6 separate regions of the Homo sapiens genome follow, and regions 1, 2, 3, 4 and 5 are each linked to region 6. The links are contacts of gene promoters, found by promoter capture Hi-C in blood cells and fetal thymus (Javierre and others, 2016). All regions are on one chromosome and are shown on one strand. Each heading gives the region's core, a stretch centred on a gene start or on the middle of the fragment in contact. The rest is flanking DNA. Distances are from core to core; before and after follow the strand shown. Region 1 has its middle 32 kb from the start of STMND1. Region 2 has its middle 70 kb from the start of STMND1. Region 3 has its middle 48 kb from the start of STMND1. Region 4 has its middle 89 kb from the start of RBM24. Region 5 holds the start of FAM8A1 (family with sequence similarity 8 member A1). Region 6 holds the start of NHLRC1 (NHL repeat containing E3 ubiquitin protein ligase 1).

Region 1 (4,762 bases), core at 1,340-3,839, 990 kb after region 6:
ATGGTTTGACTTCTTTTCTTTTCTTTTTTTTTTTTCTATTTAGATGCCTTTTATTTCCTTCTCTAGCCTGCTTGCTCTGGCTAGCACTTCCAGTACTATATTGGATAGGAGTGGTGAGAGTGGGCATCCTTGCCTTGTTCCAATTCTCAGGGGGAAATGCTTCCAGTTTTTGCCCATTCAGCATGATGTTCACTGTGGGTTTGTCATAGATGGCTCTTATTAGTTTGAGGTATGTTCCTTTGATGCTTAGTTTCTTGAGGGTTTTTATCATGAAGAGATGTTAGATTTATGAAAAGCTTTCTCCATGCCTGTTGAGATGATCATATGGTTTTTGTTTTTAATCTGTTAATGTGGTGAATAACTGTTATTGATTTGCATATGTTGAAGCAATCTTGCATCCTAGGAATGAAGCCTACTTGATCTTGATGAGTTAACTTTTTGATATGCTGTTGGATTTGGTTTTCTAGTATTTTGTTGAGGATTTTCATGTCTATTTTCATCAGGAATATTGGCCTATAGTTTTCTTTTTTAATTGTTGACTTTGTAGAATGAGTTAGATTTTTGCTGGCTTTGTAGAATGAGTTAGGAAGCAGTCCCTCCTCCTCATTTTTTTTGGAATAGTTTCAGTGGAATTGGTACCAGCTCTTCTTTGTATATCTGGAGAATTCCACTGTGAATCCATCTAGTCTGGGGCTTTATTTGGTTGGTAGGTTTTTAAAATTATTATTATTGATTCAATTTTGGAACTAGATATTGGTCTGTTCAAGGTTTCAATTTCTTCCTGATTCAATTTTGGAAGATCGTGTGTTTCTAGGAATTTATCCATTTCCTCTAAATTTTCTAGTTTTTGGGCACAGCGTTGTTCATAATAGTCTCTGAGGATCTTTTGTATTTCTGTGGGATCAGTTGTAATGTCACCTTTGTTGTTTCTGAGTTTGCTTATTTGGATCTTTTCTTCTTTGTTAATGTAGCTATCCATATATTGATCTTGCTTATTCTTTCTGAAAATTACCTTTTGGTTTCATTGATTCTTTGTATGGATTTTTGGGTCTCAATTTCGTTCAGTTCCATTCTGATTTATTTCTTTTCTTCTGCTAGCTTTGGGGTTAGTTGTTTCTTGTTTCTCTAGTTCTACTAGGTGTGATGTGAGATCATTTTTGAGATATTTCTAACTTTTTGAGGTAGGCATTTAATGCTTTAAATTTACCTCTTAACACTGCTTTTGCTGCAATCCCACACATTTTGGTATGTTGTGTCTCTGTTTTCATTTATTTCAAATAATTTCTGCATTAATTTTGTGTTTACCCAAAAGCAATTCAGGAACAAGTTGTTTAATTTCCATGTAATTGTGTGATTTTGAGAGGTATTCTTGATATCTATTTCTATTTTTATGCCACTGTAGTCCAAGAGTATGGTTGGTATAATTTCAATTTTTTAAAAACGTATTGAGACTTGCTTTATGGTTGATAATGTGGTCAATCGTGGAGTCTGTTCTATGTGCAGATGAGAAGAATGTATATTCTGTGGTTAATGGGTGATGTATTCATTCTGTAGATATCTATTAGGTCCAATTGATTAAGTGTTGAGTGTAAGTCCAGAATTTCTTTGTTAGTGTTTTGCCTCAATAATGTGTCTAATGCTGTCAGTGGGGTGTTGAAATCCCCTGCTATTATTGTGTGGCTGTCTAACTCTTTTCATAGGTCTAGAAGTACTTGCTTTATAAATCTGGGTGCTCCAATATTGGGTGCATATGCATTTAGGATAGTTAAGTCTTCTTATTGAATTAAACCCTATGTCATTATGCAATGTCCTTCTATGTCCTTTTTTACTATTGTTGGTTTAAAGTCTATTTTATCTGATATAAGAATAGTGACCCCTGCTCTTTTTTTTATCTTCTGTTTTTGTGGTAGATCTTTCCCCAACTCTTTACTTTGAGCCTGTGGGTGTCATTACGTGTGAGATGGGTCTTTTGAGACAGCAGATAGATGGGTCTTGTGTCTTGTTATTTTATCCATTTGCTTCTCTGTGCCTTTTAAATGGAAGGTTTAAACCATTTACATTTAAGGTTAATATTGATATGTGAGGTTTTGATTCTATCATGAAGTTGTTAGCTGGTTGCTTTGCAGTTTCTATTGTGTAGTTATAAGGTCTGTGTCAACTTAAGTGCATTTTTTTGGTAGTAGGTATTGTTCTTTTATTTCCATGTTTAGAATTCCAGTACAAATCTCCTGTAAGGCTGGTCTAGTGGTAACAGATTCCCTTAGTGCTTGCTCATCTGGAAAAGATTTTATTTCTCCTATGCATATGAAGCTTAGTTTGGCAGGATATGGAATTCTTATTTGGATTTTCTTTTCTTTCAGAATTGTGAAAATAGGCCCCCAATTTCTCCTGGCTTGTAATATTTCTGCTGAGAAGTCTGCTATTAGCCTCATGGGGTTCCCTTTGTACATGATCTGACATTTTTCTCTAGCTGCCTTTAAGTTTTTTTTTGTTTGTTTGTTTTTTAAATATTGACTTGGACAATCTGGTGACCAAATGCCTTGGTGATCATTTTGTATAGTATCATGCAGGTGTTCTCTGGATTTCTTGTATCTGGATATTTACCTATCTAGCAAGATCAGAGAAAATTTCTTGAATTATTCCCTTACATATGTTTTCCAGGTTTTTTGCTGTTTCCCTTTTTCTCTCAGGAATACCAGTAACTCATAGGTTTTGCCATTTTACATAATCCCATATTTCTCAAATACTTTGTTCATTTTTAAAATTTATTTTTTCTTTATTTTAGTCTGACTGGGTTGATTTGAAAGACCAACCTTTAAAGTCTGAAATTCTTTCTTCTGCTTTGTTCAGTTTATTGATAAAGCTTTCAGTTGTATTTGAAATTCTTTGAGTTTTTCAATTTCAGAAGCTCTGATTGATTTCTTTTAAGATGTTCATCACTTCCTTTATTTTCTGGATTGCTTTAGAAGTTTCTTTGTACCACTTTTCAATCTTGTCCTGTATCTCATTGAGCTTCCTTGCAATCCATGCTTTGAATTCTTTATCTGTATTTCTGAGTTTCCGTTTTATTTAGAAACCATTGCTGGAGAGCTAGTGCAATCCTTTGGTTTGTCACTATATTCAGATTTTTCATGGCACAGAATCTTTGTGCTGGTTCCTTCTCATCTGGAGATACTGGCACTTCTAATTTGTGTTATTATTTTCCTGAAGATAGGGTTTTTTCTTTTTCTTTGTTTTCCTATAATATTGTGTTTTTTTCTTTCCATTTCCTTCCCCCCTTCTCCCTGTACAGTTCCTGTTACTGTAGAGGAACTGTACTGTACCCCAACAGGGTAGGGTCTTTTGGCTTTGCTTCTATATAGCCCTATGCATTTCTTTCAGCAGGTTTTATATTGGGCTGTGCAGTTTGACCTACAAGCCCTTAGATGGCACTTATAGGTAGGAGCCAGCCAATATGGCTGTGTATATACTTGATCTTTGTTTGTTGCAGAAGCTCTCTGTTGCCTTAGGCAATGGGGTGATTTGTGGAATTCACAGTGGTCTGAGCTCCCCTATGCAGCCCTGGAGGGGGCAGGGGCAGGGGCCATGATGGGTGGGGCCAGACCAGGCAGGTTTGCCTGCACATTCCCTAGTGGCAGACACAAGCACAAGCTCTGAGGGATAATCTAGTGGGTGGCCACCAAGCATCCAGAGTTGTGCCTAGGTGTGGAGCTGGGAAACCTCCTCAGTCCCAAGTTTTCTGCACAGGGATGGGAGTTAGCCCAAATTCCTAATGCAGGAGATTAGGTGCCCCAGATGCCTGAAGATCTGCCTGGGAGTAGAGCAGAGAGGGCCCCTCTGCACCAAGATCTCTGCACAGGAAGGGTGGGGTGATTCAGGCTGCTGTTCCAGGTGAGTGGGTGTTCCGAATGCCTGGAGAGCTGTCTGGGCATGGAGTGGACAGGGCACCCCTGAATCAAGATATCTGCATAGAAGGGGTGGGACAACTCAGTCTGCTGAACCAGGCAAGCAGTTACACAGTATCTTTAAACACATTATTTCATCTGATTCAACTCTGTGACAGTGGCTATCCCAAATTAACATGTAAGGTAATTGAGACACAGAGAGCCTGCATGCCTCAGGGTCACATTGTAAGAAGTAGACTGACTCTAAAGGTTTCGGCTTTCCAGTGAGTTTTGAAGAAGCCCCTCAACCCCCTTCTGCCACCACCATCATACCTCACTGGCTGTAGGTGTTTGAAGTCCTATAGGCTATACAAACACATACAACAGAGGTCCCCAACCTTTTTGGCACCAGGGACTGGTTTCGTGGAAGACAATTTTCCCATGAATGTCGGGGAGGGGGTGTGGATAGTTTCAAGATGATTCCAGTGCATTACATTTATTGTGCACTTTATTTCTCTTCTTATTACACTGTTATATATAATGAGATAATTATACAACTCACCATAATGTAGAATCAGTGGGAGCCCTGAGCTTGTTTTCCTGCAACTAGATGGTCCCATCTGAGGTGATGGGAGACAGTGACATCTGAAATGCGTTGCTTATGTCCAGTCTACTCCATAATCTCATTTTGTTTGCTGTCACTGCAGAAAACCCTGCTGCACAAAGATGGGATGCTAGAAATGGAAGCAGGCTTTTCAGTGCTTTTGTGGCGATGTCAGGATATTCCGCCTGGACTTTAATTCAGAACATATGGAGATTTGAAGTTGCCTCAAACATACTTTTAAGGCCACCAGATGCAGCTGTACGATTCAAGAACA
Region 2 (4,946 bases), core at 2,413-4,912, 950 kb after region 6:
CCATGTTGGCCAGGATGGTCTTGGTCTCCTGACCTCATGATCTGCCCGCCTTGGCCTCCCAAAGTGCTGGAATTACAGGCGTAAGCCACCCCGCTGGCGTTTTTTTTTTTTTTTTTTTTTTTTTTTTTTGAGATGGAGTTTTGCTCTTGTTGCCTAGGCTGGAGTGCAGTGGCAGATATCAGCTCACTGCAGCCTCCGCTTCCTGGGTTCAATCGATTCTCGTGCCTCAGCCTCCCGAGTAGCTGGGATTACAAGCACGTGTCACCACGCCTGGCTAATTTTGTATTTTCAGTAGAGCCGGGATTTCTCCACGTTGGTCAGGCTGGTCTCGGACTCCCGACCTCAGGTGATCCGCCTGCCTCAGCCTCCCAGAGTGCTGGGATTACAGATGTGAGCCACCGCACCCGGTCACTATCATCTTTTCTAATAAGAACTGGTTCAGGCTGGGCGCAGTGGCTCACGCCTGTAATCCCAGCACTTTGGAAGGCTGTGGTGGGTGGATCACCAGGTCAGGAGTTTGAGATCAGCCTGGCTAACATGGCGAAAACTAGTCTCTACTAAAACTACAAAAATTAGCCGGGTGTGGTGGCAGGCTCCTGTGATCCCAGCTGCTCGGGAGGCTGAGGCAGGAGAATCGCTTGAACCCGGGAGGCAGAGATTGTAGTGAGCCGAGATCGCACCATTGCACTCCAGCCTGGGCGACAGAGCGAGACTCTGTCTCAAAAAAACAAAAACAAAAACAGAAACAAAACAGACGTTTATTCTCTCACAGTTCTGGAGGCTAGAACTCCAAAATTAAGGTGTCAGCAGAGCCAAGCTCCCCATGAAGGCTTTAGAGAAGAATCCTTCTTTGCCTCTTCCTAGCTTCTGGTGGCCCCAGCACTCCGCAACTTGTGGCAGCCTCCCTCTGATCTCTGCCTTTCTCTTCGCATGGCTTCCTTCGCTGTCCATGTCTGTCTGTGTCTTCTTCTCTTGTAATAAGCACATCAGTCATTAGATTTACAGCCTACCCTAAATCCAGGATAATTTAATCTCGAGGTTCTAGCAAATGCATCTGCAAAGACCCTATTTCCAAACAAGGGCACTTCTGAGGCTCTGGTTGGACGTGAACGGGGGGTGGGACATGATTCAACCCACTATCAGGAGGACCTGGGAAGTGGTGCTGAATGGGGGATGGAACATGCCATCAAGTTAAAGGTTTTCTCTAGAACTGGTCTTCCTCCTCTTCTCTTGCCAGGTAGGGTGTGGCTCCTCCTTTCAGAATATCAGGCTTCAGGGGGCAGGACTGGCACCCGCAGATGTTGACCTAGGGAGCTAAGGTCACTTTCATTGCGTGGAGCTGGAACCAGCGAGCAGGCTCTCCTCCTGGCCCCCTCCCCTGCCCCTTCCCCTTCTCCCTTGCCTGCTTGCTTCCCCTGCAGAGGCACCTGATTCTAAGGAGCTTGTGAAGGCTTCATAGGAATTGGGCCATAGAATGTTTTGAATGTGACAGCCTGGTGTTTGAAGCTTCTGTCTAGGAAAAAAATTACTGGTGGGATTCACTCATGTAAATGGCATTCTTGAATTGTCTAAAAGTTATTGTGAATCACTGACATGACTTGTATGTGATTGGCTCATATACGACCTCTCTACTGAATACTATCTTGAAGATTCTATCTCGATATTCAAAGGCTCAGGTCTCACGGGCACATTAGTGCATCCCCTTTATGGGTAGCTCAGCAAGCCCAGGGGAAGGGTATGAGATTCTTATTAGCATCTGTCCTCAGCCAGGCAGTGTGCTCCTATGCAGATGTGCTGGGTGCTTTCCTTTTATGTAAATGTCTGATCCACAACAGGGCTATCCTCTGACTGCTTTCATCTCCCTCAGATCTTGCAGAGCCCTTTTAAGGTAGGGATCATTTGGCAGCTCTATCAAAGGATTTGGCCTCCTTATATCAAGAACGAAAAATCCTGACATAGCCCTGAAATTCCTTGAGACAAATAGTTCATATATTTTCAGTTCAATGGTGCATTAATCATGAGTTGCTTTTTTTTTCTTTGAATGTGATAAAAGATCAACTCAAATTAGCTTAAGCATATGAAGGGATTTAATAGGATACTGGATTTTCTTATATAATCAAAGGAGGGGTTGAACAAACAACCAGATACCAAGAAGGGTAAGGATGCGGCTCTATCAAGGAAAGACTTTAATGAGAGATGAACGTCATAAGGAAAAGCTTTGTTTTGCTTTTCTCCACCTGAGGACCCCATTGTCACTACAGACTGGCCCAGTTTTTACATCTTGCTGTTCCCACAGTCGAAACAGGACTGACTCACTCTCCCTCTGGTCCCAAGGTAAAATAAAATGCCAGGAAGGGGTGTGATTGGTTCAACCCAGTCAAGGAATTACACTTCTTGATCCAAACACCCTCACATATCAGGAGAAGTTGTTTCTTTTGAACATTTATCAAATTATGTTGAGATCTTTGAGTCTAAGTTATAACCTCTTTTGTCTAATGCAAATCTTGATGATTTTGCTATGTACATGTCTTTTTTTTTCTTTTTTCTTTCTTTTTCTTTTCTTTTTATTTTTTTTTGAGATGGAGTCTCACTCTGTCACCCAGGCTGGAGTGGAGTGGCACGATCTGGGCTCACTACAACCTCTGCCTCCCGTGTTCAAGTTATTTTCCCATCTCAGCCTCCTGAGTAGCTGGGACTACAGGTGTGCACCACCATGCCTGGCTAATTTTTGTATTTTTTGGTATAGACAGGATTTCACCATATTGGTGAAACTCCTGACCTCAAGTGATCCGCCTACCTCAGCTTCTCAAAATGCTGAGATTACAGGAGTGAATCACTGTGCACAGCCTATGTCTTTTTTGAGAAGATCGATGCTTTGAATGTGATGTTGGCTTCCTTTGATAGAACCATCTCAGCAAAAAAAGTCTTCTATTCCAAGTTTGTTAAAATGGGTCACATATTCTGCTTAAAATTCTGTGATAAGTGCTATTTGTAGAGCGTAGTTGGTGTTAGAGATAATCTATAGATTTAGTAAAAACTATAATATTGTGTCTAGCATGAAGAACTATTCTATTGTAAATATACCTTTTATTTGTTGAGGAGCTACAGCTAAGGTTTTAGGGAGGAAAGTTGATAAAAGTAGCTCTGGGCTATATCCTCATATTGTGAAAAATAAGAGTGAGCTGATAGAGTTTGGATGTTGTCCCCTCTAAATCTCATGTTGAATTGTTGTCCCCAGTATTGGAGGAGGAGCCTGGTGGGAGGTGTTTAGGTCATGGGGGAGGTTCCCTCATGGTTTGGTGCTGCTGTGCGTATGATAGTGAGTGAGTTCATGCCTGCTCCCTCTTCACCTTCCACCATGAGTAAAAGCTCCCTGAGGCCTCTCCAGAAGCTGAGCAGAGGCCATTGCCATGTTTGTATGGCCCAGAAAACCACGAACCAATTAAATCTCTTTCCTTTTCTTTCTTTCTTTCTTTTTTTTTTTTTTTTTGAGACAGAGTCTCGCTCTGTTGTCTAGGCTGGAGTGTGGTGGTGTGATCTTGGCTCACCGCAACCTCTGCCTCCTGGGTTCAAGTGATTCTCCTGCCTCAGCCTCCCAAGTAGCTGGGATTACAGGCACCCACCATCATGCTGGGTAATTTTTGTATTTTTAGTAGAGATGGGGTTTCACCGTGTTCACCAGGCTGGTCTCGAACTCCTGATCTCAGGTGATCCACCCACCTTGGCCTCCCAAAGTGTTGAGATTACAGGCGTGAGCCACCGCGCCCGGCCTAAACCTCTTTTCTTTATAAATTACCCAGTCTCGAGTGTTTCTTTATAGCAGTTCAAGAACGGTGTAACACATGAGCATCGAAGCCTGTGTCCTCCTTCAAGAACACAAATGTTGGTTGCAACAGAAAATCGGATCAAATTCTACCATCAAGTTTAGCTTTGTTGCACTTAATCATTATTTAATAGATCAAAATTATTTCCTTATCCTTCTCATTCTCCATTCCTGGTTCCCTAAGGGAGCTAACACTTCATTCAAGAATATTTATTTGCCTCCTTTGAAGGACAAAGACAAAAGCAGGTAAATTAAGCAGGAAACCTAGATCTCTTGCTGGGCTACAGGGCAGTGTGTGAGGCTTAGAGGCAGACAGGCCTGGATTCAAATGAGACTTGGCTACTTAATGTGAGATGCTGAATACAACACTCAACAATGTAAAATTTTAATTTTTTCATTTGCAAAATTGGGATGATAATATCACATGGAATTGTCTGAGTATTAAAGGAGATCAGCCATGTAAAGTGTTTGGCAGGGCATTACTTGCTGAGGGTCCTATTGAGGTCCAACTATAGTCTGACCTCATTCCCTTTTCTGGGTCATCCAAGTTTCTCTTCTTGGTTCCCTTCACTCCCTCAGCACAGGGAGAGACACCCCACACCCAGGTTAGCTACTAGAAGTAAGGCTAACGCCACTTAACCTGCAGCTTCCCTTCTCTCTGTTGTTCTTAGGGGAATAGGAAGTCCTTTTAGCTTGGCTGACCTCATGCAGGGAGAGCTATGAGACAGGGAGAGTCTACCTGTCTAATGTGCCCAGATTATCCTTCAAGGAGAGGTGTTGGTCTTGAGCATTATATTCTCCTTTAAGAGCTAGGACTTGGTAGGTGTCCATTTCTCCTTTCTCTCACCTTCCATATTTAATTGTGTGTTCATTCCAAGTACCTTATTTTCTTTGGCGAATGTTTCTTAGGAAGAGGAAAGAGTGTTCATGTCAGAGCACCAGCACAGATTGGGGGCACTACTCTTTGGAATGAGGGGCTGGCTAATCCCATCCATGGCTGGCTCAGCCCCTAGAGGGTGGCAGGAAAGAGAATCAGCTGGAATCATGTAAACACTCAGGCGCCAATCGCCTCATCCAAGAAACTGCTATGAATGTCAAGTGCATCATATTTGCTGAGGCAGGA
Region 3 (4,828 bases), core at 575-3,074, 970 kb after region 6:
AAGATATCACATCTCATGTGGTAATGAAAGAAATTTGAGAGTATATAAGAATTCAGAGATTATAAACCTAAGTGTTCCCAAATGAGGGATTTTCTTGAGCACATACTCTAACCAAACTACAAGCAAATCCAAGCAGACATTATGATAGTGTAAGAAGATGAGAAGAAATGAGCATGAGCAATGAAACTTGAGATACTTATATTCATCATCTATTCATATCTATCTATCTACCTAAATGACTAAGGGTAGACTGTCAATGAATCTGTAATATAAGTGCAAATATAGACTCTAGAAATAAAACGGCATACTTTATAGGTAATTTAACAATTTGAAAACAAAAATACTAAATTATCTCAGAAAAACTAGGAACTGGAGTGAAGAAGTGGTAACTAAAATCATTCCCAAACTTTGACTTCAGACCATGGGAAGAAGAAGACAAAAATGTATTGAAAATATTCACTGATCTTGTTGAGATGATGTGGGGATAGGGGAAAACAGTTAATTGGCAGCCAACTCTGGAAGGGCTCAAGTTGATTGATTGTTAGATTTCAGAGGGCACCTCAAGGGTCCTGGTGTCCCTCATTGACAGCCCAAGCTTTTCTTCCTCTCCCTACTGTCCTCACCCTTGTCTGAGGGGACAGCGTGTGCTGGCCATGCAGAACCCACAATGCTCCTATATCATACCTGAAATAGCAGGTTTTTATGAGACTGAATGAAATGAAATTACCAACAATTGTGTAATGTAATATTTAACCAAGCCAATAGTCCAAGGCCATCTTCCAACAACGTTACTTTTTTCCTTTGCTGTACATTGTGTTGTGCTAGAGATGTTAGTTTTTCTAGCAGCTGTTTGCAGACCAGCAATTGTTCACCTTGGACTGAGGACGCAAGTCAAAATGAATTTCTCTATATCAGCTGCAACTGGGATTACTTGTTTGTTTCTTTTGTTTGTTTGTTTGTTTGTAAATTTCCAGCATTCAAGCTGCACAGATTTTAGCAAGCTTGGAGGGACAAAGGACTAAACAGACCCTCCTTGGAACATTAAAACAAATGGTTCCAAGTTGTTTGGACTAATTAAGCAGTCGCTGGATGTCACAATATTTCTGTGGAAATGGCAATTCCCTGGCATTTGCCAACTTCCTTGTAATGTTACATACAAGATCCAAAATGGAATTTTTCATTTTATTTAACTTGTGAGATTAAATTTAAGACTAACTTAATAAACCAGCCTATTTATGTGGACAATAGAATTATTTACAATAACTCCTAATACTAATAAATTAAAAATAAATAAACTTCCAACAACAGGGATCAGCTAAATAAATAATAGCAATGTCTTCTAACTTTTTTAGAATTGCAAACCCCTGAAGTGGTTTTAAAAATATCACCAATTTTGAATGGCGACAGGGGACAGGGAGTGCTGGCCATGTAGAACCCACAATGCTCCTATATCATACCTGAAATAGCAGGTTTTATGAGACTGAATGAAATGAAATTACTAACAATTGTGTAATGTAATATTTAACCAAGCCAATAGTCTAAGGCTATCTTCCAAGAACATTACTTTTTCCTTTGCTGTACATTGTGTTGTGCTGGAGATGTTAGTTTTTCTAGCAACTGTTTGCAGACCACCAAACGGTTTTTCTTTTCTTTTTTCAGACAGAGTCTCACTCTGTCTCCCAGGCTGGAGCGCAATGATGCAATCTTGGCTCACTGCAACTCCCGCCTCCTGGGTTCAAGTGATTCTCGTGTCTCAGCCTCCTGAGTAGCTGGGACTATAGGGGCGTGCCACAATGCCCGGCTAATTTTTGTATTATTAGTAGAGATGGGGTTTCGTCATGTTAGCCTAGCTGGGCTCGAACTCCTGACCTCAAGTGATCCACCTGCCTCGGCCTCCCAAAGTGCTGGGATTACGGGTGTGAGCCACAGTGCCCGGCCAAGAACGGATTATTCAATAAAAATATTTTTGGCCAGGTGCAGTGGCTCACGCCTATAATCCCAGCACTTTGGGAGGCTGAGGCAGGTGGATCACGAGGTCAGGAGATCGAGACCATCCTGGCTAACACCGTGAAACCCCATCTCTACTAAAAATACAAAAAATTAGCCAGGCGTGGTGGTGGGTTCCTGTAGTCCCAGCTACTTGGAAGGCTGAGGCAGGAGAATGGCATGAACCCGGGAGGCGGAACTTGCAGTGAGCGGAGATCGCACCACTGCACTCCAGCCTGGGCGGCAGAGCGAGACTCCGTCTCAAAAAAAAAAAAAAGTATATATATATATTTTAAATTTTTATCAATATATTAAAGATTGTGTTATAAAGTTTCCTTAAAATACAATAGCTGCAATTGGGTTTGAGAAGTTATTAGTTAATACAAATAGTTATGAAATAGTAAGCTATATACATGTTGGTCTCTGCTCCCAGTCCTGGGCACACAGCTTCTAAAACCCTTGTAATTTCCTGAGTGATGGGGTGCTAGGAAAATCTTTTGTTCTAATGTTTGGTCTCTGCCCCAGTTTCTGACAGAGTGGTCTTCCATCTGTTGAGATTTCCTGGGTGATAGCAGTGTCTTTTGTCCTAATGAGGTGACTCTTGATGGGCTCCTGGCTGGGGGCTGGTCACCAGATAGACCAAGCCAGGATTAGAAGCTTGGAGCTTTCAGCACCGTCTCTTATTCTCTGGAGAGGGGAGAAGGGCTGGAAATGGAATTAATAATCCGTCATGCCTGTGTGAGGACAGTGCCATAAAAATCCCTCAACTATGAGGTTCAGAGAGCTTCTGGGTTGGCAAACACATCCCTATGCTGTGAGCATGGCCCTCCACCAACTCCACAGGGACAGAAGCTCCTGCCCTTGGGACCTTTCTTTCACACCTTGCCCTATGCATCTCTTCCATCTGGCTATTCATCTGTAGCCTTTGTAATTTCCTTTATAATAAATGGGTAAATGTAAGGAAAGTGTTTCCCTGTATTTTGTGAGCCACTCTAGCAAATTAATTGAACCTGAGAAGGGGGCTGTGGGATCCCTGATTTATAGCCAGAAGGTTGGGAATACTTAACAACCTACTGCTTGTGATTGGCAGCTGAAGTGGGAGGCAGTCTTGTGGGACTGAGCCCTTAGCCTGTGGGATCTGACGCTTTCTCCAGGTAGATTGTGTCCTAATTGAATTGGATTAGAGAACACACAGCTGGTGTCTGCTAGAGACCTGCTTGATTGTTGGTGGAGAGAAAACCTCACCCATTTTGGTGACCAGCGTTGAAGTGTTCTGTGTTGTATTGAGTGCATGAGAGTAGGAAAAGCACTTTGGTTTTTCCTAATAAAAGTTGATTAAGGAGTCTTAAGAAACAATGTATATAAATCTTAAATATTTTAACTTAAAACATTTATATATACTTTCATTTGAAAACACTTTGATGTGACATCAATGTATGATTACAATTCTTGTATAATATAAACCATATCCATAATGTATTACCTATAGTTATAATTTTAGTCACCTTAAATTAGAGGATGAAGTTTGGAAATTTACAGTATGATGTGAGTGTAGAATCATCCTTTGAAGATTTTTTGGCAAATTTGCTATTCCTTTTCTAACTCCATTTTTTTTTTTTGGAGATGGCGTCTGGCTCTGTCGCCCAGGTTGGAGTGCAATGGCGTGAGCTTGGCTCACTGCAACCTCCACCTCCCGGGTTCAAGCGATTCTCCTGCCTCAGCCTCCTGAGTAGCTGGGACTACAGGTGCCCGCCAACACACCCAGCTAATTTTTATATTTTTAATAGAGACGGGGTTTCACCATGTTGGCCAGGATGGTCTCGATCTCTTGACCTCGTGATCTGCCCGCCTCGGCCTCCCTAACTCCCTGGGATTACATGTGTGAGCCACTGCGCCCGGCCCTAACTCCACTGTAAAAGAAGCTATTCAAAATTAAATATAACAGCTGGTAAAAATAGCATTAATAGGCCTTAGAATAGTTGTTAGTGGCTCTTGGTAAGTATTCCACTTGACTCTTGTGGACAGGGTATACTCAGGCGTGCTGGAAAGTTGTCTCCTAGTCTGGAATGTGCATCTTATTGTGGGCATTGCTCAGTGTGTTTACAGACTAAATGGCAAGCATAGAGCAAACTCGAGCGTGCCTCAAAATCACTGGGAGGGGCCGGGTGCAGTGGCTCATGCCTGTAATCCCAGCACTTTGGGAGGCTGAGGCAGGTGGATCGCTTGAGCTCGGGAGTTCAAAACCCCCCTGGGCAACATAGTGAAACCCTGTCTCTACCAAAAATACAAAAAATTTGTCAGGTGTGGTAGCATGCACCTGTGGTCGCAGCTACTTGGGAGGCTAAGGTGGGAGGATTGCTTGAGTCCAGAAGGCAGAGGTGGCAGTGAGCCAAGATTTTGCCACTGCACTCCAGCCTGGGCAAAAGAGTGAGACCCCATCTCAAAAAATGAAAATCACCTGGAGGCCTGGTTAAAATCCAGATCGCTGGGCCCCATGATCTGATACAGATGGCCTGGGGTGGGGCCTGAGAACTTGCATTTATAACAACTTCCCGGGTGATGCTGATGCAGCTGGTTAGGAATCACATTTTGCGATCAACTGGCATAGGCCACATATGCAAAAGATTAAAACTAGACCCCTTCCTTACACTATATACAAAAATTAACTCAACACGGATTAAAGACTTAAATGTAAAAAAACCAAAACTATAAAAACCCTTTAAGACAACCTAGGTAATACCATTCTGGACACAGGCACGGGCAAAGATTTCATGATGAAGATGCCAAAAGCAATTGCTGCTAAATCAAAAATTAACAAATGAGACCTAATTAAACCAAACAG
Region 4 (4,857 bases), core at 1,419-3,918, 930 kb after region 6:
AGAGATACATAGTGTAAGGTATGAGAAGAGATGTGGAGCTTCCATGCCCTTCCTTGGGCACCACACTAGAGGAACCTCAACATGTTCAGCTGTCTGGAAGCTTCTGTGAACGCTGCCCATTTTGGTTTGTATGGAGGCTTCATTACATAGCCATGACTGATGAAATCCTTGGCCACTGGTGATGAACAGAACCTTCATCCTCTTCTTCCTCCCCAGAGTTTGGGGGTGAGATGGGGCTGAAAGTCCCAACCTTTTAATCCTGCCTTGATCTTTCTGGTGACCAACCTCATTCTAAAGCTAGCTAGCAGCTGCCAGCCAGTCACCTCCTTAGCATACAAAAGACTTTTACTATTTGGGAGATTACAAGAGTTTTAGGACCTGTGTGCCAAGAACTAGGGGCAGAGACCAAATACATATTTCTTATATCATAATATCATAGCGTTGTTCTTTTAAGTTCTTGGTGACACCCTCTGGACCCTTGGGTCTAACCTCGGACATTTCTCCTTTTTGATAGAAAATGGCCCATGTTTGCAGCTGAGTGACATTCTCAGCCTTTTTCTGCCTGTAGATGATTGGGGGCTCAGAAACAGCCTTTCTTTTGAGCTATTCTTTATTGCTTTGAGTTCAAGCAGGCACAATTTCCTTAAAAATATGTTTGGTTTCTTATGACTCTAGATGGAATTTATTCCATGTTCCAAAAGCCATGAGGCCCCAAGAGGCCAAAACAGACCTCTGTCTACACTGGGCACATCAAGCTATTGTGGGTCACTACCCTTATGATTCATAGAAGTCCATTTGTCTAGCTAATGGGATCTACTAAGTACTGCCTTAACTCTTTGTGGGATCTTAATAAAGGAATTTACTGCCACACATGGATTTCCTCTTTATCGTAAGCATGTTTTACTCAGAGAATTTTTTACTGGCTGGAGAGACTGAGGATGAGAAACAATTTTATTTCACAATCCAGTAAGTCCTGGGCACTCTAGATTTCCTCTAAATTCTACTTGCGGACTGAAAAGTTCTTTCTAGTTCCTCTCTCTTATCATGTATACCATGTGTCTTATCATATGCAGCTAAAGGAGGCCAAATAATACTTTCAGCATTCTGCTGGACATTTTAGCTACAGCTACAACTGTATCTAAGTGAGGTCCATTTTCCCCTCTTCCAAGTTACTGCAGGCAAGAGTGTTGCCAATTTGTTATCATCTGAATGTTTGTGTTCCCCTCAAATGTATATGTTGAAATCCCGGTCCCCAAAATGATGGTATTAGGAGGTAGGGCTTTTGGAGGTGATTAGGTCAAGAGGGTTCTTCCCTCAGGAAAGGGATTAGTGCCCTTAAAAAGAGACTACAGACCCTCTTACCTCTTCACCATGTGAGGACTGAGTGAGAAGATAGCTGTCTATGAACCACAAAGTGGGCTCTCACCAGACACTGAATCTGTCAGCTTTTATCCTGGACTCCCCAGCCTCCAGAACTGTGGGAAGTAAATTTCTGTTGTTGATAAGCCACCTAGTTTACTATATTTTGTTACAGCAGCCTGAATGGGATAAGACACAATTGTTTCACTATACAAAACAATGAGTACCCACTTAACAGTTTCCAATAAGGAGTTCCTCCCTGCTTTTCCAGCCTCCACTCATAGTTTGTTTGCAGCCCGTCCAGGCTTCATTAACAATTTTCCAGCCAGGTTTTCAGCCTTCGCCCACTGTCCAGTTCCAAAGCCAATATCATACATTTAAGATTTTTGTTGTTTGTTTGCCTACCTTTAGGATTTTGTTACTACAACATTGCAGTTCTAGTTGGCAATTTCTTTTTAGGTTATATGTTGCCATATAACTAGTCACCCCAAACCTTAGTGACTTAAAACAACAATGATTTATTATTTTTTAAAATGATTCTGTAGGTTGGCTGAAAGATTCCTCTGCTAGTTTCACCTGAGCTCACTTGTTTGGTTATTCAAGGGAGTTGGCTGAAAGCTAGGCTCATCTCTGATCCCTGGGACAGAGGGGGCTCTCTTTCCATCTGGGAGGAATACCAGGAGCTGGGATTCATTGGGAGCCATCTACCCTCACCTTTAAAGGACCAGCATTACTTATAGCAGCCTTTTCAGTAGTAACAGGAGAAGCCAGTGGGAAGTAAAATGATATTGTCAGTGCATTAAAAAAATACAAAAAACAGCCAACCTAGGATTGTAGACCGGATGAAAATATCTATCAAGAATGAGGACAACATAAATGCATTTTTAGACGAGTAAAGCTGAGAAAGTTTGCCACAAGCAGATGCTCACTAAAGGAAATTGTAAAGAATAAGCTTCAGGCAGATGGAAAGTAATTCCAGATGGAAAATCTGAGATGCAAGATGGAACAAAAAGCATGTGAAACAATAAAGAAATATATTAAGGGGTTACAAATATGATAGAGTTAATATATATTCACCACAATATGCAAGTTGGAAGCAGAGTTAATAGAGTTAATAGTGTTCTAAGTTTCTTTGTTTTTGTTACTGTCCAGAGGAGGATGCCTGTTGATTAACATCAGGCTTTATTAAGTAGGTATGCCAGGATTTTTTAAAAATGTAGAATGGGTTGAAAAAATACAAAGCAAAAAATAATATGGTTTATATAAGTCAAAATATGTTACCAATTACATTAAATGTAAATGAACTAAAAGTTCAAATTAAAAGATAATACATTTAAGCAGTATAACTTAATTACCTAATCTAAACATACAGTAAACATATATTAACTGAAATTTAAGGGGAAAAAAAGAGAGAAATCCACAGCCACAGCAGAAGGTTTTGGCATACGCCCCTGAGTGATAAATTTGGCTCATAAGAATTAGATAAGCTATAGAATCTTTTAATAGCATGATTAATAAACTTGACCTAATAAACATAGCTAGAAAACTGCACCCACTAACCCATTTTTCCCTAGCATACACAGAACATTTATAGCAAAGGAAAAAAAACAAGGTCATACAGTGAGTCCTAATAAACTGTGAAGAACTGAAATTTTACAAAGCTTGGCTCAATTGCAATGCAAGTAAGCTAAAAATAAATAATAAAAATAAGTAGAAAAGCTCATAGTTTTAGAAATTAAAAAATATACTTCAACATAAAACACAGGTCAAAGAAGGAACTGTATTAGAAATTAGATAATATTTTGAACTGAAAACTAGTACGTATTTAATTGCTTATAGAAGGTAGCTAACACATTTCATAATAAAAAATTTTAAATCTTAAAAATATATTAGACAAGAAGAGTGGCCGAAAATGAATGAGCTAAGCATCTATCACAAATCAGAATACAATCAGCAAAATACCCTTGCCCCCAGAAGTTAGAGACAGGAAATAAAGTAAAGAAATAAATAAAGTAGACAACAAATGAAGACATAAGAACAGAAAAATAAGGTATAAATAACCAATGACAGGGATGAAAATGAGTTTCCACTTCTGATGCTGTAGTTATTTTACAAGTAAAAAGATGATAATATGAGCAACTTTTTTCTAAAATATCTAAAACTCTAGACCTTAAGCTAATGCCCTCGTTTCTTACTTTGCTGAGAAACTTGAAATAATCAGAACTTCCACAGTCCTCTACTACAGAACCTACTCCCGTGCAAGTATTCTCATCTACACCCATGTATTTCCTGCCTGTTAAATATAATAGATTTTTCCATGCTCCTATCTAAACCCAGTCCCAGCCAGGGGCAGTGGCTCATGCTTGTAATCCCAACATTTTGGGAGGATGAGGCACGAGGATCACTGGAGCCCAGGAGTTCAAGAACAGCCTGGGCAATATAGTGAGACCCCCATCTCCCCCAAAATTTAAAAATTAGCTAGATGTAGTGGCATGCAACTGTAGTCCCAGCTACTTGGGAGGCTGAGGTGGGAGGATTGCTTGAACCTGGAAGGTCCAGCCTGCAGTGAGCCATGTTTGTGCCACTGCATTCCAGTCGGGGTGACACAGCGAGACCCTGTCTCAAAAATAAATAAACAGCGCCCCCCCAAAACATAATCCTTCTATTTTTGCACTGCATCCTATCCTTCTCTTCTAGTTAAGGACATTTCTTTACTAGTTCTCCCCTCTTTGCTACATAGTCAGTATTTTACTCTTTTACCAAGTTATTTCCATCAACATTCAAACTTCTTCCTCCAGTTACTCATTTCCATATTTCTTCAAGTGTTTATCTATATTCTCTGACTATGTCCTCTCCTTCCATTCTGTCTCCATGCACTCATGCCTTTTCTCCTACTACTCTATCAAAATAGTTCTTTTTATGGGCACGAATAACCTTGCTAAATCTAAGGTCAACCTCTATCACCATCTTACCTAACCTATCAACAGCATTTGACAGAATAAGGGTAAGTTTTTTCTGTTTTCTAGAAATACACTTTTCTTTGGCTTCCAAGATAGGGTAGTTGCCAGATTCCCCACCTATCTCATTGTCTGCTTATTCTTTGTCCCTTTTGTTGATTTTTCCTCTTCTCCCCAAACTCTTAATGTTGGAGTTCAACAAGGTGAACACTTGGTTTGCCTCTTCTTATTTCTTTTTTTTTTTTTTTTGAGGTGGAGTCTTGTTCTGTTGCCCAGGCTGGAGTGCAGTGGTGCGATCTTGGCTCACTGCAAGCTCCCCCTCCCGGATTCACGCCATTCTCCTGCCTCAGCCTCACAAGTAGCTGGGACTACAGGCACCCACCACCATGCCTGGACAATTTTTTGTATTTTTAGTAGAGACGGGGTTTCACCGTGTTAGCCAGGATGTTCTTGATCTCCTGACCTCATGATCCACCTACCTCGGCCTCCTAAAGTGCTGGGATTAAAGGTGTGAGCCACTGCACCTGGCCTCCTCTTCTTA
Region 5 (4,842 bases), core at 1,045-3,544, 520 kb after region 6:
CTCTGCCTGTAAATTAAAAAAAAAAAAAAGTTAGGAAAAACGAATCATTTCACATAAGCCTTGGAACACAAGCCATGTAATGAATTGCTAAAGAAAGTCAAGGTACAACTTAATAAAAAATATTTATAACCGTGCAGCAACTATTGATATTGATTCCACCAAGAATCCATGTTACTAAAATAGAGTAACAGAGAATCCACTATTTACTGAGCTTAAAGTTTGCTTTCATCACCTTAACGTTTAAAAATTGATTTCACACGGCCAGGTGCAGTGACTCACGTCTGTAATCCCAGCACTTTAGGAGGCCGAGGCGGGCAGATTGCTTGAGGCCAGGAGTTCGAGACCAGTCTGGCCCTGGCCAACATGGCGAAACCCCGTCTCAACAAAAAATACAAAAATTAGCCGGGCGTGGTGGCGCATGCCTTTAGTCCCAGCTACTAGGGAAGCTGAGGTGGCAGGACGGCTTGAACCTGGGAGGCGGAGGCTGCAGGGAGCCAAGATCGCCACTGCACTATCCAGGCTGGGCGATAGAAGCAGACCTTGTCCCCACCCTCCCCACTTTCCCCCTAGAAAACTGATTTCACAGATAAATTTGATTAGGGTACCCACTACATTTCACTAGGAATTCTAATGAGGAGAATCCAGGTGATCACATCTAAGTCACACAAAATTAAACATTTTTTAGTACAAATCAAGGTTAAATATTGGCAATTAGTATAAAGTAAATCCCTGTAATCCCCCCCCACCCGTTTTTTAGTTTGTTTTGCTTTCTTTAAAATAAACCCAGTGAGTATCAATCTGTCATCCTAAATTCTGACTGGGATCAGAGGCATCAACTAGTTCTTGTCCCATCTATCTGTGGCTAACTAAAATAAACTAAAAGTCTAATAGTTTAAATAGTAAACTAAGAAGTGTAACTAATTCAAAATATTCTAGTTCACACACAGAAGCAAAAACAATTACACAATATACAAGATATTGATCAAATGAAGTGAAGCTTTGACCCAATCAAAACTTCCTAACTCCACTTGTATCCATGTCGATCTCCTTTTATATCCGTTCAGTTCCACTGTCCTAAGTAGCCAATGTCTGAATAATTTTCAGCATTACCAGTCGAGCCCCTCCAAAAGTGGGTTTGCCATTTGCGAATTTAGCTTTGGCCCTCACTGCAGAGCGTGAAAACCAAAGGAAGAGGATGGTTTGAAGAGCAATTTCTTTTCACGAATAAACAACTAGTCCCATGAGTAAGGGAGTCAATTTGGAGTGCCAGGTCTAAAGGAAGAAGAAACTGTATTGCCTCCTTGTACATTTTGGGAATTTAGGGCCTGGACAAACGATAGCTAGTGAACTGAACGGGCAGGATAGTCAATCAGAGTAGAAGCAGCAGTTACAGGTCTAAAAAGCGTGCCAGCTCTACCCCACAGGCCCCCGAAAACCCTTCTACTCCGCCCAGCCTCCACCTCGCGCTTCTCACCTGCCTGTCGCCCGGTCTCGCTCGGGCTTCGCGAAGGGGCTGCGGATCCTACCCTCGTCACTGGAGTGGCCCGGACCGACGCCTGCACGTGAGGAGCCCGGGGTCCCAGGCCCGCGACTGGAGCAGGGGTGCTGATGCCGGCAGCTGTCCGCGGGTCAGGCCCCGCGGCCCCGGGGCTCAGGAAGTAGAAGGGGTTGTAATAGCCCAGCTGCGGGGGCGGCGGCGCCGCGGCCTGGGGGACTGCAGCGCCGCCCGAAGGGAAGCTCTGCGGGGAGGGCTGGGGGCTGCAGTAGGCTGGGAAGGCGGCCAGGCCGCTGTGCCAGGTGAGGTAGCCGCAGTAGGACTGCCACAGCCACTCGTGCACTTGCCGGGAGTACTCGCGGGCGCTCAGCCGAGCTGGTCTCTCTCGTGGCGCCGCGGCTTCGGGCGCCTCGCAGCCCGCCTGCTCCTGCAGCTCTGCACCGGAGCCGGAGGCCGCCTCCCCGCGCTTCCTGAGCTCGCGCGGCGGCTCCAATTTGTCGGCTGCGGCGGCAGCCGCGAGGCCCGGGGCTGTGGGCCGGCCCGGGGCCTGGGGTTCGGCCTGGGGGTCGTCGCGGGGGCATGGGACGGCGGTGGTAGGAGGGCCTCTCAGGGAAGGGACGGGCTCGTGGTCCCCTCCGCCATCGTCCTGCCCGGGAGGGTGGCCTCGGGCTTCCTCGGGCCCCTCGGCCATCGTCGCCTCAGCAGCACCCTCTGGGATACCTGTCACTGCTCCGTTTCCCTCCCCCAATGGCCCCTCCCCAACAGCCCCGTCACCACCGCAGCAACCGCAGGCGTCAACAATCCCCCGCCGGAAGCGGAAGCCCCGCCCCTCAGGAGCAACGCCCGCCGCCAGGCGGAGCTGGGAAGGGAGGGCGGGGAGGTGCGTCTGCAGTCCCGGGTTCGGGCCCTAGTAGTCGGTGGCTGGTCGGTGACTGGGACCAGACCGTCGCCTCCTCCCTTTTACAGCTTTAAGTCTGTGACCCGAGGCCTCTCTGTATATTCCCGTGGGGTTGGGCCTAGTTGTCCTGGGAGAAACTAGATGGATGAGGAGTATTTCCGAGACAGGTCCCAGGGCCAGCGCAGCCTTTTCTGTTGCAGAACCGCGACTGTTGTTTTGGGATCCAGGCCGGAGGGTTTGTTGCTTGTGTTCATTCCAGTTAACCATTAGTACTCGAGAAGGTGGTACAGAACGCATCTATCCCCTTAGAAGAAAAGAAATTAAAAGCCAAACTAAACTGGGATATATATTAATATAGGAAACTACCACTGAGACATAGGAAAGTGTATTAAAATATAACTAGTGAGGTGCTATGTATAATTCAGAGGAAGGGGAAATTATGCATGGGCCAGACTACTAACAAAAGGCTCCAAAGCCTGGGATACGCTGAGGGCCTTTCCATAACAGAAAATGAAAAGGAACCTAAATTTGAGACTAGATTTGAGGAAAGGCACAGTTGCGCTGGAGTAGAAAGCGTCTGTCTACCGCAGTGGAAAGTAAGTTTTCGTAAATGCAGACTAGCTCCAGGGTGAGGACAGAATCTAGCTTTTAAATCAGTATAATCTCTCTTCTTTTACATTTGAAAATCTCTGCAGCGATATGTTATTGTATCCCCAGCACCATACAAAGGACATACAAGGGCCAAATACTGTGGGAATATTTATTAATGATATTAATGATGATGCTGTCCGGGCCAAAGGAAAACTTCCGCTTCACCTTCTGAAGTTTCGCTGAAAGTCACTGACAGGAGGCAGTTAATAGGAGAAAAGACATAGACATTGATTTGACCATCGTTTTATGTGACACGGGAGCCTTCAGAATGAAGACCCAAAGATAACAAGGGAAATCGTGTATTTGTATGCTTAGGTTCAACAAAGCATGGACAGCCGTATAAAAAAATGACTGGACAAGGCCGGGCGCGGTGGCTCACGCCTGTAATCTCAGCACTTTGGGAGGCTGAGGCGGGCGGATCACAAGGTCAGGAGATCGAGACCATCCTGGCTAACACAGTGAAACCCCGTCTCTACTAAAAATACTAAAAATTAGCCAGGCGTGGTGGCGGGCGCCTGTAGTCCCAGCTACTCAGGAGGCTGAGGCAGGAGAATGGCGTGAACCCGGGAGGCGGAGCTTGCAGTGAGCCGAGATTGCGTCACCGCACTCCAGCCTGGGCGACAGAGCGAGACTCCGTCTCAAAAAAAATGACTGGACAAAAAACACTCTGATGCAAACAGGCAAGAAACCCAGCAAGGCCTATCTGGATTCTCCTTGGCCTGTCTGCAGCATTCATTCCTTCTGGGTATGGAACAGGACCCTCTGGAATGGGGGCTGTGGCCTACAACAGTTAAACAAGGTAGGTCAGATAATTTTTCTTTTCCTTCTTTTTTTTTTTTTGACAGAGTTTTGCTCTTGTCGCCCAGGCTGGAGTGCGATGGTGCGATCTCGGCTCACTGCAACCTCCCCCTCCCAGGTTCAAGTGATTCTCCTGTCTTAGCCTCCCGAAGTAGCTGGGATTACAAGCGCCCGCCATCACGCCCAGCTAATTTTTTTTGTATTTTTAGTTGAGACGGGGTTTCACCATGTTGGCCAGGCTGGTCTTGAACTCCTGACCTCAGGTGATCCACCCGCCTCGGCCTCCCAAAGTGCTGGGATTACAGGCGTGAGCCACTGCGCTCTGCCAGATAATTTCTCTATGTCCAATATTTGCACAGAAAGGGGTGCAGGGAGGTTAGAGTAATATTTTTAGGTTTGTGGCTGGCTTTGGGAAAGGGTGGGGTTTTGGTTTCTATGCCCTGCTTTGGGAAAGACGGATTCCAGTTTCTATGACTAGCCTTGTGGGTGGGGGTGGGGGGAAGAATGGGATTGAGACAGGAGGGTTGGAGAAGGTGGGAAAAATCTTTTGCTTCTGAGGTCTTCATTTTGGGGTATGGTTTTCTGAGTTCCAACAATGCCCAGGGTCATTCTTTTTTTTTTTCTTTCTTTGTTTTTTTAAAGACAGGGTCTCACTCTGTCACCTAGGCTGGAGTGCAGCAGTGTAGGCACTCCTCACTGTAGCTTTGACCTCCCAGGTTCAAACTATCCTCCCACCTCAGCCCGAGTGACTGGGACTACAGGCACGTGCCACTGCCCCCGGCTCATTTTTTTCATTTTTTGTAGAGATGGGGGTCTCACTGTGTTGCCCAGGCTGGTCCCAAACTCCTGAGCTCAAGCAGTCCACCCGCCTTGTCCTCCCAAAGTACTGAGATTACAGGTGTGAGCCACCACGCCCAGCCCCAGAGTCATTGTTGGCTTTATTCTGGGAGATATAAAAAGCCATAATTTTTTTCCTTAAAAAGCTAATGATCTAGGTTCA
Region 6 (4,589 bases), core at 2,090-4,589:
TGTAGTCAAACCTTCTACTGGTAACAGTGTCACTAAATATTTTTCAAAAGCAAGATTTTTAAATAGCTGTATAATGTTGTAATGTGGCAGTACAATTATTATTTAGTCTTTCTCCTGCTATTAGAGTCAGCATTCATTCAGCAATTTAAGTACTATTGGGTGTGCTAGCAGATAAAGGTTTATTGATTATTGAAGATAATCCTTTTCTCAGGCATCACAGGTTGTAGGGGTAGGGACTGAACATTGAACTTCATATGGTATGGCTGTCTTAGGGGTACAGGCAGGGAGCTGTCAGCTTATAACTGGTCATTTAAACCACGAGGAAGTGAAGATGGCATTGCTCAGGGAAACAGGTAGGAAGCTAAGAGAAAAAGACTGAAGGTGGCACCCTGAGGAACACTCAATTGCATTGAACTTGAGATGCACTCAAATCTCTAGATCCCCATTTCCAAACATACATCTCCACTCATTTTTGTATGGACTTACTCAAAAAATTCAAAAACAGCCATTCTTCCTCTTGCCACCACATCCCTCACCCCTGAGATGCCAAGAACATGGAGCTTAAAAATTAGAGTGGTGGTCAGAGACGCCCCTGGGAGGAGGGCAAGGCTGGAAGCAAAGCCCATTCTGTGTGGCTTGTTCATCTTCCTTTCCCTTACATCATTGTCAGGTAGTCTGAGTTGTAATTGGATCATTAAACTTGTTCTGGGATTCCTTCTAAACTGCATGTGTCTGGCACATTTGCCCCACCTGCACAACCAGGAGCCCACCTGTCTAAGCACTGACTCCCCCTAACTCATGCTCCCCCTGTGCTCTCTTCTCTGCTGGAACCATCCTGAGCTGGGTCCCCACTCTCCTTCCACTATAGTATGGTACTTTTTCATAGGGCAGCCATTGACCACTTTGGAAACTAGACGTTCTGCTCTTCAAGCCCTTTGCCCCCACAACTCTCAGGGCTTGTTCTAGGTGGAAGCAGGAAAAGATGGGCATGCTAGTCCAGGACCCTCTATAGAAGGAATATCGGAGGGAAGCACAGGGTAAATCCATGGAGGCCCAGCCATGGAGGAGGAAATGATAGTCATAGGAAATGCCAAATGTCAGAGTGAGATTCAAGACATATTTGTTATTAATCAATTATGCAATGGTGTGATTGCATAAATAATGTGATTTTAGTTGGTTGTTTATTTGGGATGGAAATGTAGTCAGAAATTATTAAGTTGGTTATTGTGTCCCAGTACGCAATCTTTGAGTCAAATGACATTTGATTAGAAAATGTTCTTTCTTGTCTTACATTAAAGCTCTTTCCAGGGGCCTCAACAGGGGATAAAATATTGTGTTTTCTCAGAAATCTAGCAAATCAGAAGGTGAATGTTCATGATTATGATCTCTAAAGGAAAAGAAATTCTCTAATACAAGGTTTTGTTAAGCACAATGTTCACATAAGACATTTGAGGGAGAACCCCTTAAAAATAAGAGTTTAGGGCCAGGCACGGTGGCTCATGCCTGTAATCCTAGCACTTTGGGAGGCTGACGCGAAAGGTCAGAAGTTTGAGACCAGCCTGGCCAACATGGTGAAACCTCATCTCTACTAAAAATACAAAACTTAGCCAGGCATGGTCACGGGTGCCTGTAATCCCAGCTACTCAGGAGGCTGAGGTGGGAGAACCGCCTGAACCCAGGAGGTGGAGGCTGCAGTGAGCCGAGATCGCGCCACTGCACTCCAGCCTGGTGACAGAGCAAGACTCTGTCTCAAAAAGAAAAAAAAAAAAAAGAAAGAAAAAGAAAAATGAGAGATTATAATACCACAATGGATTCTTCACACAGATTATGCTATCCCTTGTTTGAAGATTTTCCAACATATGGCAAATTCTCTTTGTTTTTGGTCTTAACTGAGATTGGAAAAACTGAACTTAGTGTCATTTGAGGGAATTATTATAATGCAGTGTTTCTCAAACTTGGCTGTACATTATAATCACCTGGGGAGCTTTTATAAATCCCAGCTGTCCAGACCACACCATGGGCCAATTAAACTTTTCGGGTGCGACCCAGGTGTTTACCATGTGCAAAGAAGTTTGAAAATGACTAAAATAGGTAACTCTGAAGTCAAACTGCCTGGCTTCAAATTCCAGGCCAGCCACTTCCTAGCCATGTGACCCTGGGCAAGATATTTGATTTCTATGAATTCTATCAGAAAAAAAGACAATAAAAATAACATATTTTTGTAGGATTGCTATGAGGTTTAAACAAGATAATCTATGTAAATTATTTATTAATTTGCTGCAAAAGTAATCACGGTTTTGCCATTAAAAGTGATGGCAAACACTGCGAATCCTTTTCACCAACCTAACACAATGGGGCAGGCATATGTGAATTCCATAGGCTGGGCACAGTGGCTCACACCAGCACTTTGGGAGGCCAAGGGGTGGGGAGGAATGTGAACAATTTTCACAAGTTCAAGACCAGCCTAGGCAACATAGTGAGACCTCCTCTCTACAAAAAAATTAAAAAATTAGCCTAGTGTGATGGTGCATGCCTGTAGTCCCAGCTACTGAAGTGGGAGGATTGCTTGAGCCTGGGAGATGGAGGCTGCAGTGAGCTGTGATCGTGCCCCTGCACTCCAGCCTGGGTGACAGAGTGAGACTTTGTCTTAAAAAACAAAAAAATGAAGTTCTATGGTAATTATTATTAACTAACAGCTTTCTTATTTCATATTAATTACTCTGCAAGACACTTCCAGCATGGTTGCCCCATCTGACACTCATTCACCTCGTTGATTTTTTTTTGTTGTTGTTGTTGTTCTATAACATTCATTCATGCACAAATTCATTTTACAAGTATGTATTCATCTAACATTGACTTAACTATGAGTATGACAGAAGACACAAAAGAAATGTACACATCTGCCTCACCTCCCTTGGAGTTTATCTTCTCTAGTGTGTTCGTGTTTTCCGGTTCAGATCATAAGCATCATGAGCTAAGGGACCATGTTTTATGCCCGGACAGCCGTAGCACCCGGCGCTGCGGATTGGAGACACTGCTAGGCACCCGGGCTGGAAGATTGGGTTCTAGTTCTTGTTTTGCCGCTTACAGGCTGGGTGACAGGGAGCAATCCTGTTGTCCTCAATAGGTGTGTTTCCTCATCTGAAAGTGTACACAATCCATCCATGACTGCTGTGACGATTACAGGTCTACACAACGCGCATGTGGATTTGTCTTGCAAACGTCCACCATCAGGCCCTCAGGAAACAGTGCCGCGCGTGCCCACCAAGGGGCAGCAGATCGCAGTGCAGAGGCCCGCGGCGCTCGACGTCAGGGCGCACGTCCCACCCCGTGACCATGACTGTGACCGTGACCGAGAGCGTCGCTGGGGCACGGCCAGGCGGCGCGGCGGGAGTGCACAGGACGCGCCATGGCGGCCGAAGCCTCGGAGAGCGGGCCAGCGCTGCATGAGCTCATGCGCGAGGCGGAGATCAGCCTGCTCGAGTGCAAGGTGTGCTTTGAGAAGTTTGGCCACCGGCAGCAGCGGCGCCCGCGCAACCTGTCCTGCGGCCACGTGGTCTGCCTGGCCTGCGTGGCCGCCCTGGCGCACCCGCGCACTCTGGCCCTCGAGTGCCCATTCTGCAGGCGAGCTTGCCGGGGCTGCGACACCAGCGACTGCCTGCCGGTGCTGCACCTCATAGAGCTCCTGGGCTCAGCGCTTCGCCAGTCCCCGGCCGCCCATCGCGCCGCCCCCAGCGCCCCCGGAGCCCTCACCTGCCACCACACCTTCGGCGGCTGGGGGACCCTGGTCAACCCCACCGGACTGGCGCTTTGTCCCAAGACGGGGCGTGTCGTGGTGGTGCACGACGGCAGGAGGCGTGTCAAGATTTTTGACTCAGGGGGAGGATGCGCGCATCAGTTTGGAGAGAAGGGGGACGCTGCCCAAGACATTAGGTACCCTGTGGATGTCACCATCACCAACGACTGCCATGTGGTTGTCACTGACGCCGGCGATCGCTCCATCAAAGTGTTTGATTTTTTTGGCCAGATCAAGCTTGTCATTGGAGGCCAATTCTCCTTACCTTGGGGTGTGGAGACCACCCCTCAGAATGGGATTGTGGTAACTGATGCGGAGGCAGGGTCCCTGCACCTCCTGGACGTCGACTTCGCGGAAGGGGTCCTTCGGAGAACTGAAAGGTTGCAAGCTCATCTGTGCAATCCCCGAGGGGTGGCAGTGTCTTGGCTCACCGGGGCCATTGCGGTCCTGGAGCACCCCCTGGCCCTGGGGACTGGGGTTTGCAGCACCAGGGTGAAAGTGTTTAGCTCAAGTATGCAGCTTGTCGGCCAAGTGGATACCTTTGGGCTGAGCCTCTACTTTCCCTCCAAAATAACTGCCTCCGCTGTGACCTTTGATCACCAGGGAAATGTGATTGTTGCAGATACATCTGGTCCAGCTATCCTTTGCTTAGGAAAACCTGAGGAGTTTCCAGTACCGAAGCCCATGGTCACTCATGGTCTTTCGCATCCTGTGGCTCTTACCTTCACCAAGGAGAATTCTCTTCTTGTGCTGGACACAGCATCTCATTCTATAAAAGTCTATAAAGTTGACT

What was found. Contacts are between HindIII fragments. The CHiCAGO score rates a contact against its expected background, and 5 or more counts as called.
Region 1: a fragment that was not itself captured here is called in contact with the fragment with the promoter of NHLRC1 in region 6 in 1 of 17 cell types (M2 macrophages); the score reaches 5.4 in M2 macrophages.
Region 2: a contact is called between a fragment that was not itself captured here and the fragment with the promoter of NHLRC1 in region 6, in 3 of 17 cell types (M2 macrophages, erythroblasts and M1 macrophages). The highest score is 8.9, in M2 macrophages.
Region 3: a contact is called between a fragment that was not itself captured here and the fragment with the promoter of NHLRC1 in region 6, in 14 of 17 cell types (M2 macrophages, M0 macrophages, naive CD8 T cells and 11 more). The highest score is 14.5, in M2 macrophages.
Region 4: a fragment that was not itself captured here is called in contact with the fragment with the promoter of NHLRC1 in region 6 in 1 of 17 cell types (erythroblasts); the score reaches 5.1 in erythroblasts.
Region 5: a contact is called between the fragment with the promoter of FAM8A1 here and the fragment with the promoter of NHLRC1 in region 6, in 3 of 17 cell types (megakaryocytes, neutrophils and total B cells). The highest score is 8.9, in megakaryocytes.

What each region holds. Positions count from the first base shown.
Region 1 is chr6:17,132,007-17,136,768 of GRCh38, reverse strand. No RefSeq gene overlaps it. Among named protein-coding and RNA genes, the nearest start is that of STMND1, 32 kb to the right of the region's middle. The HindIII fragment of the contact is 553 bases long and covers 2,313-2,865 here.
Region 2 is chr6:17,169,882-17,174,827 of GRCh38, reverse strand. No RefSeq gene overlaps it. Among named protein-coding and RNA genes, the nearest start is that of STMND1, 70 kb to the right of the region's middle. The HindIII fragment of the contact is 2,888 bases long and covers 2,219-4,946 here.
Region 3 is chr6:17,148,059-17,152,886 of GRCh38, reverse strand. No RefSeq gene overlaps it. Among named protein-coding and RNA genes, the nearest start is that of STMND1, 48 kb to the right of the region's middle. The HindIII fragment of the contact is 1,642 bases long and covers 1,004-2,645 here.
Region 4 is chr6:17,189,498-17,194,354 of GRCh38, reverse strand. No RefSeq gene overlaps it. Among named protein-coding and RNA genes, the nearest start is that of RBM24, 89 kb to the left of the region's middle. RefSeq lists a silencer at 850-1,050. The HindIII fragment of the contact is 709 bases long and covers 2,314-3,022 here.
Region 5 is chr6:17,597,754-17,602,595 of GRCh38, reverse strand. FAM8A1 (family with sequence similarity 8 member A1) reads right to left here and starts at 2,294. Exons shown (of 5, transcript NM_016255.3): 1 at 1,475-2,294; 2 at 1-6. The coding sequence starts at 2,186. It overlaps LOC102724591 (a long non-coding RNA gene), which reads left to right and starts at 3,620. Exons shown (of 5, transcript XR_007059485.1): 1 at 3,620-3,843. RefSeq lists enhancers at 1-388, 389-889 and a silencer at 1,956-2,435. The HindIII fragment of the contact is 5,181 bases long and covers 1,000-4,842 here.
Region 6 is chr6:18,121,427-18,126,015 of GRCh38, reverse strand. NHLRC1 (NHL repeat containing E3 ubiquitin protein ligase 1) reads left to right here and starts at 3,339. Exons shown (of 1, transcript NM_198586.3): 1 at 3,339-4,589. The coding sequence starts at 3,410. The HindIII fragment of the contact is 6,107 bases long and covers 1-4,035 here.